Regions from separate parts of the Homo sapiens genome. Here region 2 is linked to region 1. Evidence: promoter capture Hi-C in 16 types of primary human blood cells and fetal thymus (Javierre and others, 2016). All regions are on one chromosome and are shown on one strand. The core of a region is centred on a gene start or on the middle of the fragment in contact, and the rest is flanking DNA. Distances in the headings are between cores, read along the strand shown.

Region 1 (3,333 bases), core at 497-2,996:
ACTGTGCATCAAAAGGTGTCAAATAGCTTTCACACAATATTTTCTGAAAGGCATGTTAGATTCTCATGGGCTTTATTTAGTTTAACAAGTTTCACTAGGGGAACCTATTTCCTAAAAGTTTCCATAGTGAATCTGATACCTTCAAACCGCTGTCTCAGTAGTCAACAAATTTGCCTAAAAGTTAAAATCAAGCAGTTTATTATATGAAACAATTTTTCCTTAATATCCACAACCTAGAGACTCATTCTAAACTCACTGAGAGGTTAGACAAGCTTGGATTATCGCTGTTACAAAAGAAGTTCCAAACTTTCTCTATGCCTTACATCTCTTTTACTATAGGATGACGCTTCTTAACCTCTTCTCTGAATACTGTTCTTAAATATACACAGGATTTACAAGAAAACTAATTCTATTAAAACAGTCATAAAAAGTAAACGCGATATATATATGTGCTTCTCTGTTGCATTCAATAAATTCAGTGATGTGTTACTATAATTTTGAATAAGTATAAACAGTATTTCTATATTAACTGCAATGTGATATAAACATATTTTATGATCTCTACTGATGACAGTCACAGATACTACTGTGATTTGTTGCTTATATTTTAACTGAATATTAGTTTTTAAAATTTAGTGAAATGATATACCTTTCTTTCCATCCAAGTTCATGGGTTACCTAAATTGTATGAAACCCACTATTTAGGAAGGCTTGATCAAAATTTCATATTTTACCAGGGAAGAAGTCTTACATAGAATTATTCTGGAACATCAGTATATGTAAAGCAAGGTACTAAAGTATTCCCTATGCTTAACCATTCTTCACCCCAGGGTTAAAATCAGTTTCTAGTGTCTGGTCTTTCCACCAATGACTGAGGTGTTGACCAAATGTGCTAGATCTAGAAAACATACTTTTATTTTAGAAATGTATTATATTTTATCACCCCTAAAACCTTTCCCCATAAGGTGATTGTAAAACCGCCTCATTCTTTAAATTTCTACAACACACACGTCTTACCATGGCTAACATCTTAACAAGGCAGAATCTATTTGTGATTAGATGACACTGAAATGTAGTTCCCTACCTTCCTTCCACTCATTACATTATTTAGAAGACTTTTTAAGAAATAATTTTTTTTTAGGGAGGCAGGCACTTCGTAGAACCCCCTTCACTAAAACTTTGCACTACTGGGAAGTCTCAGCTCGCCGTAACCGACTCAGTCCGGCCTAGCCGATCCCGCAGTCCCGTGACCCGCGCGGTCCAGAGCGAGAAAAGGGAACAGCGCAGGGCTCCCCGGAGCAAGGACCCCACCACACCGCACCCCACCCCACCCCCACGCCAGGCAGGACGGCCGAGGCGGGAGGACGCTGCGGTCCAGGCGCTCGCCCTCCACCCCGGTCCCGGCCCGGGCCAGGCCAAAAAGCTCGAGAGCGCGGCATCCCCGCCTGCTCCCCTCCCATCCCCGGCGAGGAAGTCACCTGAAATGACCGGCCAGGGAGCAGCGGCAGCACCACACGGGCATGGAGCGCTGCGCGAGGGGCGCCCGAGCGCGGCCGCCGTGGCCGCCTCCGCCTCCCCCGGCGAGGCTGCCCGCTCGGGGCGCCCGCTGGCTCGGGGTCGCGGGGTCTGCCGGGCGCCCCTGCCTCGCGCCTCGCCGTTGCCGCGGCTGCCCCGGCTCTGTGGCGCCGGAGTCCGCCTCCAGATAGCGGCTTCCGCTCCTCGCCTGCAGGGAGCCAGGCGCCGGAGGCGGGTGATCTCGGGGCGCCGCGATAGGGGCGGAGCGGGGCGGGGACGCTGCGACGGCGGCTGCAGCGGCGCGCGGGCCCCTCCTCGCAGGTGCGGCTGCGGCGGGCGAAGTCTGCGATTGGTGGAGCCACGGCCCGGGCGAGGGGCCGGGCCTGATGGAGCCGAGGCTGCGCGGGCAGGGGACCGAGGTCTGCAGGCAAACTGCGCGGCTCGACCGGCGGCAATCGAGACCTAGACCTCGGTCAGCGCCCCGCCGCCCCTCTGCGTGCGACTTGGTGAGGCCGGTGGGTGCGCGTCGAGAGGGCCGAGGGACGAGCGGAAGAGAAGCTGCTGCGAACTCGGGCCACCCAGATGGCCCGGCGGAGTTCCCTGCGTAAGGCGCGGCCTCGGCCACTTCGCCGAGGACCCCGGGAAGGGTCGAGCTTCCCACGCCTGAGAACCCACCTTTGGGCATTTCCTCGCGCTGCCGGGGTGCAGACGCCGGGAGCTTCCGGGTGCCTCTCCCGCTGACCCCCGCATCACAGTTACCTGGAGGACTCACCAAACCACAGGTGCCCGGGACCCGCCCACCACGCTTCTTTTATGGAAGTCCCGCTTCCGGGAAGAGGTCATCCTCCCCTCTTCATGTCTCTCAAACACCCACAAGTGTAGGAATTACCAGCACGCCGGGTGAAAATCCAGGTGCTCATCAGGCCCGCCCCAGACCACACCGGCCAGTGTGGGGAAGGGCAGGAACCCCTGCTGCTTTTTAAGCCCCTGCGGGCGTTTGTGATGCAATAGGGAGTTAGAAAAGTACTCAATAGTGAGTGTCGTTATTCGGTTTGTCAAAAATTAAAGGTGGGGAGGACAAAAATCAGGAGAGATTGATTGCATCTACTTTTCTACGGAAATGTCTAACTCCGCTTCCAAAAAAAGCCGTAATTATTTTTGTGCTTCAAATATACGTTTATGTTTATATCTTTCAACATAATTTTGTAAAACAAATGTTAAGTTTTACTGAATGTTGTCACTGAACAAACTTGTGATGAGCAGGTATTTTAGAGTCTTGGGGTCTTAAAAGAAAATCATAGGACTCAGACTGCCCCAGAGTTATGCAATCTAAGAGTATATTAACCACTTTTAAGTATTATATGTTTTTCTCTTTTTTGAGCTTTTGTCGATTTGACACGTTCATTTCATTTGAATGTTGGTTCTGAAAATGAAGCATGTAGTTACTTTTCCGTTAACATACATAACAGCATTTTAAAGTACCTAAATTCCTTTTGGAAGGCCGAGGCGGACGGATCACCTGAGGTCAGAAGTTCCAGACCAGCCTGACCAACATGGTGAAACCCGTTTCTACTAAAAATACAAAACCTAGCCCCGGGCGTGGTGGCACGCGCCTGTAATCCCAGCTACTCAAGAGCCTGATGCAGGAGAATCGCTTGAAACCGGGAGGCGGAGGTTGCAGTGAGCTGAGATCGCGCCACTGCACTCAGCCTGGGCCAAAGAGTGAGACTCCGTATCAAAAAATAATAATAAAGTACCTGGCCGGGCGCGGTGGCTCACGCTTGTTATCCCAGCACTTTGGGAGGCCGAGACGGGCAG
Region 2 (3,333 bases), core at 39-2,538, 3.6 Mb after region 1:
TTGTTCCACATTAACCTACACACACACAGAAAAAAATTTGTTAAACTTATCAAATAGAAAAAGAAGGCAAAATCAAGCCCCTGGAAAATATTTTATTCTGAAAGAGTAAAAATGTCAAAATTATAACAGACACTACTCTTCTTTGGTAATGAAGGTTTCATATATTTACCACAGCAGAGAAAACTCCAAATCGGCAGAGCAAAGAAAGGACTGTGAACAAGACTGATCATTTAAAGGTCGTAAAGGTAAGGAGCAAACTACAAAATTAAATTTTTTTAAAAAAAGAACACGAAGATGAAAGGAGAGTCTGTAAGTCACAGACAAGATAAGGACTGGTAAAATCTGCAAGGTCACTGGAACCTACCAGGTCACAAAAGGTGGAGGTGGGGGTTGCGCTGGGGGGGCGGGGGATGGGGAGCTGCAGAGTCGGTGAAGAACGGAGAGTGATAAAAACATGTCAGAAAAAGACGTTCCAAAGCTGGAGTCCTTGGTTTGCAACGCTGAAATTGGGGTGAAAGTCAGGGAACGGGCAATGAGTCCATGTATTTGTGTTTTCAGGGAGGTGTTAGGGAAAGGTGGAGGAAGGCGAAGAGAAGGCTAAGGAAGCCTAAGAACTGCGGCTGCAGAGTCACGGAAACACTTCGCTCCGCTCCAGGATCACTGGCACAGGCCTTTGCCAGGGCGAACTCCGGGCAAGACCCGTGACCCCACCCCAGAAAACTCCCGACTCCCGGGCTGGAGAAGGTAGCCAAGGTAGGGCGGACCGTCCCCCGACGGGTCCTAGGAGGGTCCAGCCCGGGGGCGGACGGCGCCGGGCGCCCAGCACCGCGGCCAAGGCTCAGGGCCCGTGCCCCCTCCCGCCCTGCCCATTCGCACCCCCAGCCCCGCGCCGCGCCGTCCTTACCCGGCGCGAAGCTGTCGGCTCCCGGCAGCCGGGCGGCCACGGCAGCGGCACCTCCTCCTGCGGCGGGCGCCCTCACCCTTCCGCGCCCAAGATCGCCATCTCGCAGCAGGCGCGGCGGCAGCAGCCACCCAGGCGTCGGCCCCGGCAGCCCAGGCCGCCAGCAGCCACTCGGAACCCGCACGCGGAGCTCGCCGACACCCGACCCTCCCCCCACCCCCACCCCGTCCACGCGCCACCCCCAGCCGACCCCACACCTCCCTTCCTCGGGAGCGCGCCGCGTGGCCGCGTCGCCGGCGCCGCGCCCTAAGCGCGCGCCTCCCCGCCGGCCCCGGCACCGCGCGCTACGCCGCGGCCGCCCAAAGCCTCCAACTCCGGACCCGGAATCCGCCTCCCCCGAGCATGCGCAGCGAGGGCGCTCGGATGCTGCCTTAGGAAAACTCCGCTCCTCCGGGTCTTCCGAGCAGTCTAGCGGAGGGGGACGGACAGCCAATAGTAGGGAGGGGCGGGGCCTGAACGTGTGGAAGGGGCGGGGCCGCCGCTGAGATTTGGGAAGAGGCTGCTCTAAGCTCGCGCTGGGCACTGCTAATTTGACTTTCCGGTCGGCGGCTGATCCCGGAGCAGGACTTCTTAAGGTCCGGGGGCAAAAGTAGGCTGTCCATAAATACTCCTTGACCTAGCTGGGTGACCTCGAACACATTGCAAGAGTAAATAATTGCATTTAGCCATTGGTCATACCCGAAGACTTTCAGTCCATTTTTTATTAATCAAAACGTTCATCTGTGGAAGCCCCACCACCTAGTCCTCACTCACATCAGCCCGGTGATAAAGCAGATACTTATTGACCGAGTATACGTGTCCGCACAATTAACGCACACAACAATCTGACAAAGTAGTGTCTACTGTCTGCATTTTACAGAAAAGTCAACTAGTTTAGAAAAGTACTGTTGGTTATGTGTATTGCTTTTAGAAGAAAGGCCAATGTGCAAATAGAAGTCAGTGGGACCACATTGCTTACCAGGTGACCCGGTTTCTACTTCAGAGAAGCAGAAGCCTTCAGGCATGGATTTCTACAGCTTTTGCCCAACCACCTGACCAACCCCCATAGATTATATCTACGTCCACACCCAGACTTACTAGTTTTCCTTCTATCTCGGAGGCTAGATGTCCCTGCTCCTCTCCACTGCCTGCTCCCCACTGTGGGCGGTCCTTGGCACATCTTTAACTTCACCCTCTCCACTGCCTACAACTCCTCAGCATAATCACGTTTTAAGATTAGGTCCTAAATTTTCCCTTGATTTTAAAACCTCTGGTTCTCTCTCCCCTTCCATTTTAACTGAGCTTTTTGAAAGAACTGTGTACCAAAAACAACCCCAACACTTCATGAGTGTGTACAGAATTCAACAAGTATCTCTTGACTGAACAATGCACATTCCCGCCTACCTCCATGCATTAGTTCTTGTCCTCTGGCTTCATAGTTGAAATTGGTGCACATTATATCCACAAAGATCATTCGAAAATATACATCTGTGTCATTCCACTGCTTAAAATCATTCTTTGGCTTTTCGGAGCTCTCCTGACAAAGATTAACGTGATATTCAAGGTTCCTTTGATGCTCACATGCTCTATCTCTCCTGTTATGAAAAACTCTTCACAGTGCCCCATATGTGCCCACTCATCTCTGCTTTAAACATGTACTAAGATTTTCTTCATCTTTTTGCTTTTGCTGTCTGGTCCCTTTAAATAGATGCAATAATGTGCTTACAAACACGTCCTCAGAAATTCCGTAGGTATTCCCCAGCAGGGATCTGGACTCCTTCTCCAGAATGCATGCAGGCCTCCTCTTCCTGCTCTGTGTCTCACTTTCAGCTCCCCTCATTGCTCAATTTCCTCCCCGTTCAGAAGCTCTTAGTACTCACCTAGTCCTCAAGCTGACACCCAATATTGAACCAGCCTTTTGTTATTGACTGTTTGGTTTCAAATGAACAATATTATAAATAGTATTCCATAACCATTGTTCATGTCCTTATTAACTGTCTTAGATAAATTATTAAAAGTAATAAAAAAGTATGAACAAGTTTAGCCCTTTTGAAACATATTGGCAACTACCTTCCAGAAAGAGCATAGGCTCAGGTATCACATCGCCCAGCATCAAAACACAGCTCTGCCACCCAGTGCCACATTCTGACTTTCACAGGCCCTAGGTGCTTATACCTGTGTGGGCCTCATCTTCCATAAAATAATACTACAAAATATATTTTATTACTGCATTGGTATGAAGAAAAAGATATTAACATTATACATTAAAATATTTTCTTTGACCTAAATATTCAATTTTTTGCCTTCTGATTTTAAAAGAAATTAAAACATTTTTATGGGCCCCCGAAAGTGTTATAAGCCTGAGGCACTGTGTCTACTGTGCCTAATGGATA

The links. Contacts are between HindIII fragments. The CHiCAGO score rates a contact against its expected background, and 5 or more counts as called.
Region 2: the fragment with the promoter of WWP1 here is called in contact with the fragment with the promoter of OSGIN2 in region 1 in 1 of 17 cell types (non-activated CD4 T cells); the score reaches 5.7 in non-activated CD4 T cells.

The regions. Positions count from the first base shown.
Region 1 is chr8:89,900,983-89,904,315 of GRCh38, reverse strand. OSGIN2 (oxidative stress induced growth inhibitor family member 2) reads right to left here and starts at 1,746. Exons shown (of 6, transcript NM_001126111.3): 1 at 1,479-1,746. The coding sequence starts at 1,522. LOC124901974 (a long non-coding RNA gene) reads left to right here and starts at 1,910. Exons shown (of 2, transcript XR_007061001.1): 1 at 1,910-2,297. RefSeq lists silencers at 122-181, 1,175-1,624, 1,655-1,994, 1,744-2,042 and enhancers at 2,336-3,101, 3,102-3,333. The HindIII fragment of the contact is 4,461 bases long and covers 275-3,333 here.
Region 2 is chr8:86,340,502-86,343,834 of GRCh38, reverse strand. WWP1 (WW domain containing E3 ubiquitin protein ligase 1) reads right to left here and starts at 1,288. Exons shown (of 25, transcript NM_007013.4): 1 at 905-1,288. WWP1-AS1 (WWP1 antisense RNA 1) reads left to right here. Exons shown (of 6, transcript XR_007060994.1): 2 at 175-245; 3 at 559-753. RefSeq lists a silencer at 738-1,197. The HindIII fragment of the contact is 10,725 bases long and covers 1-3,333 here.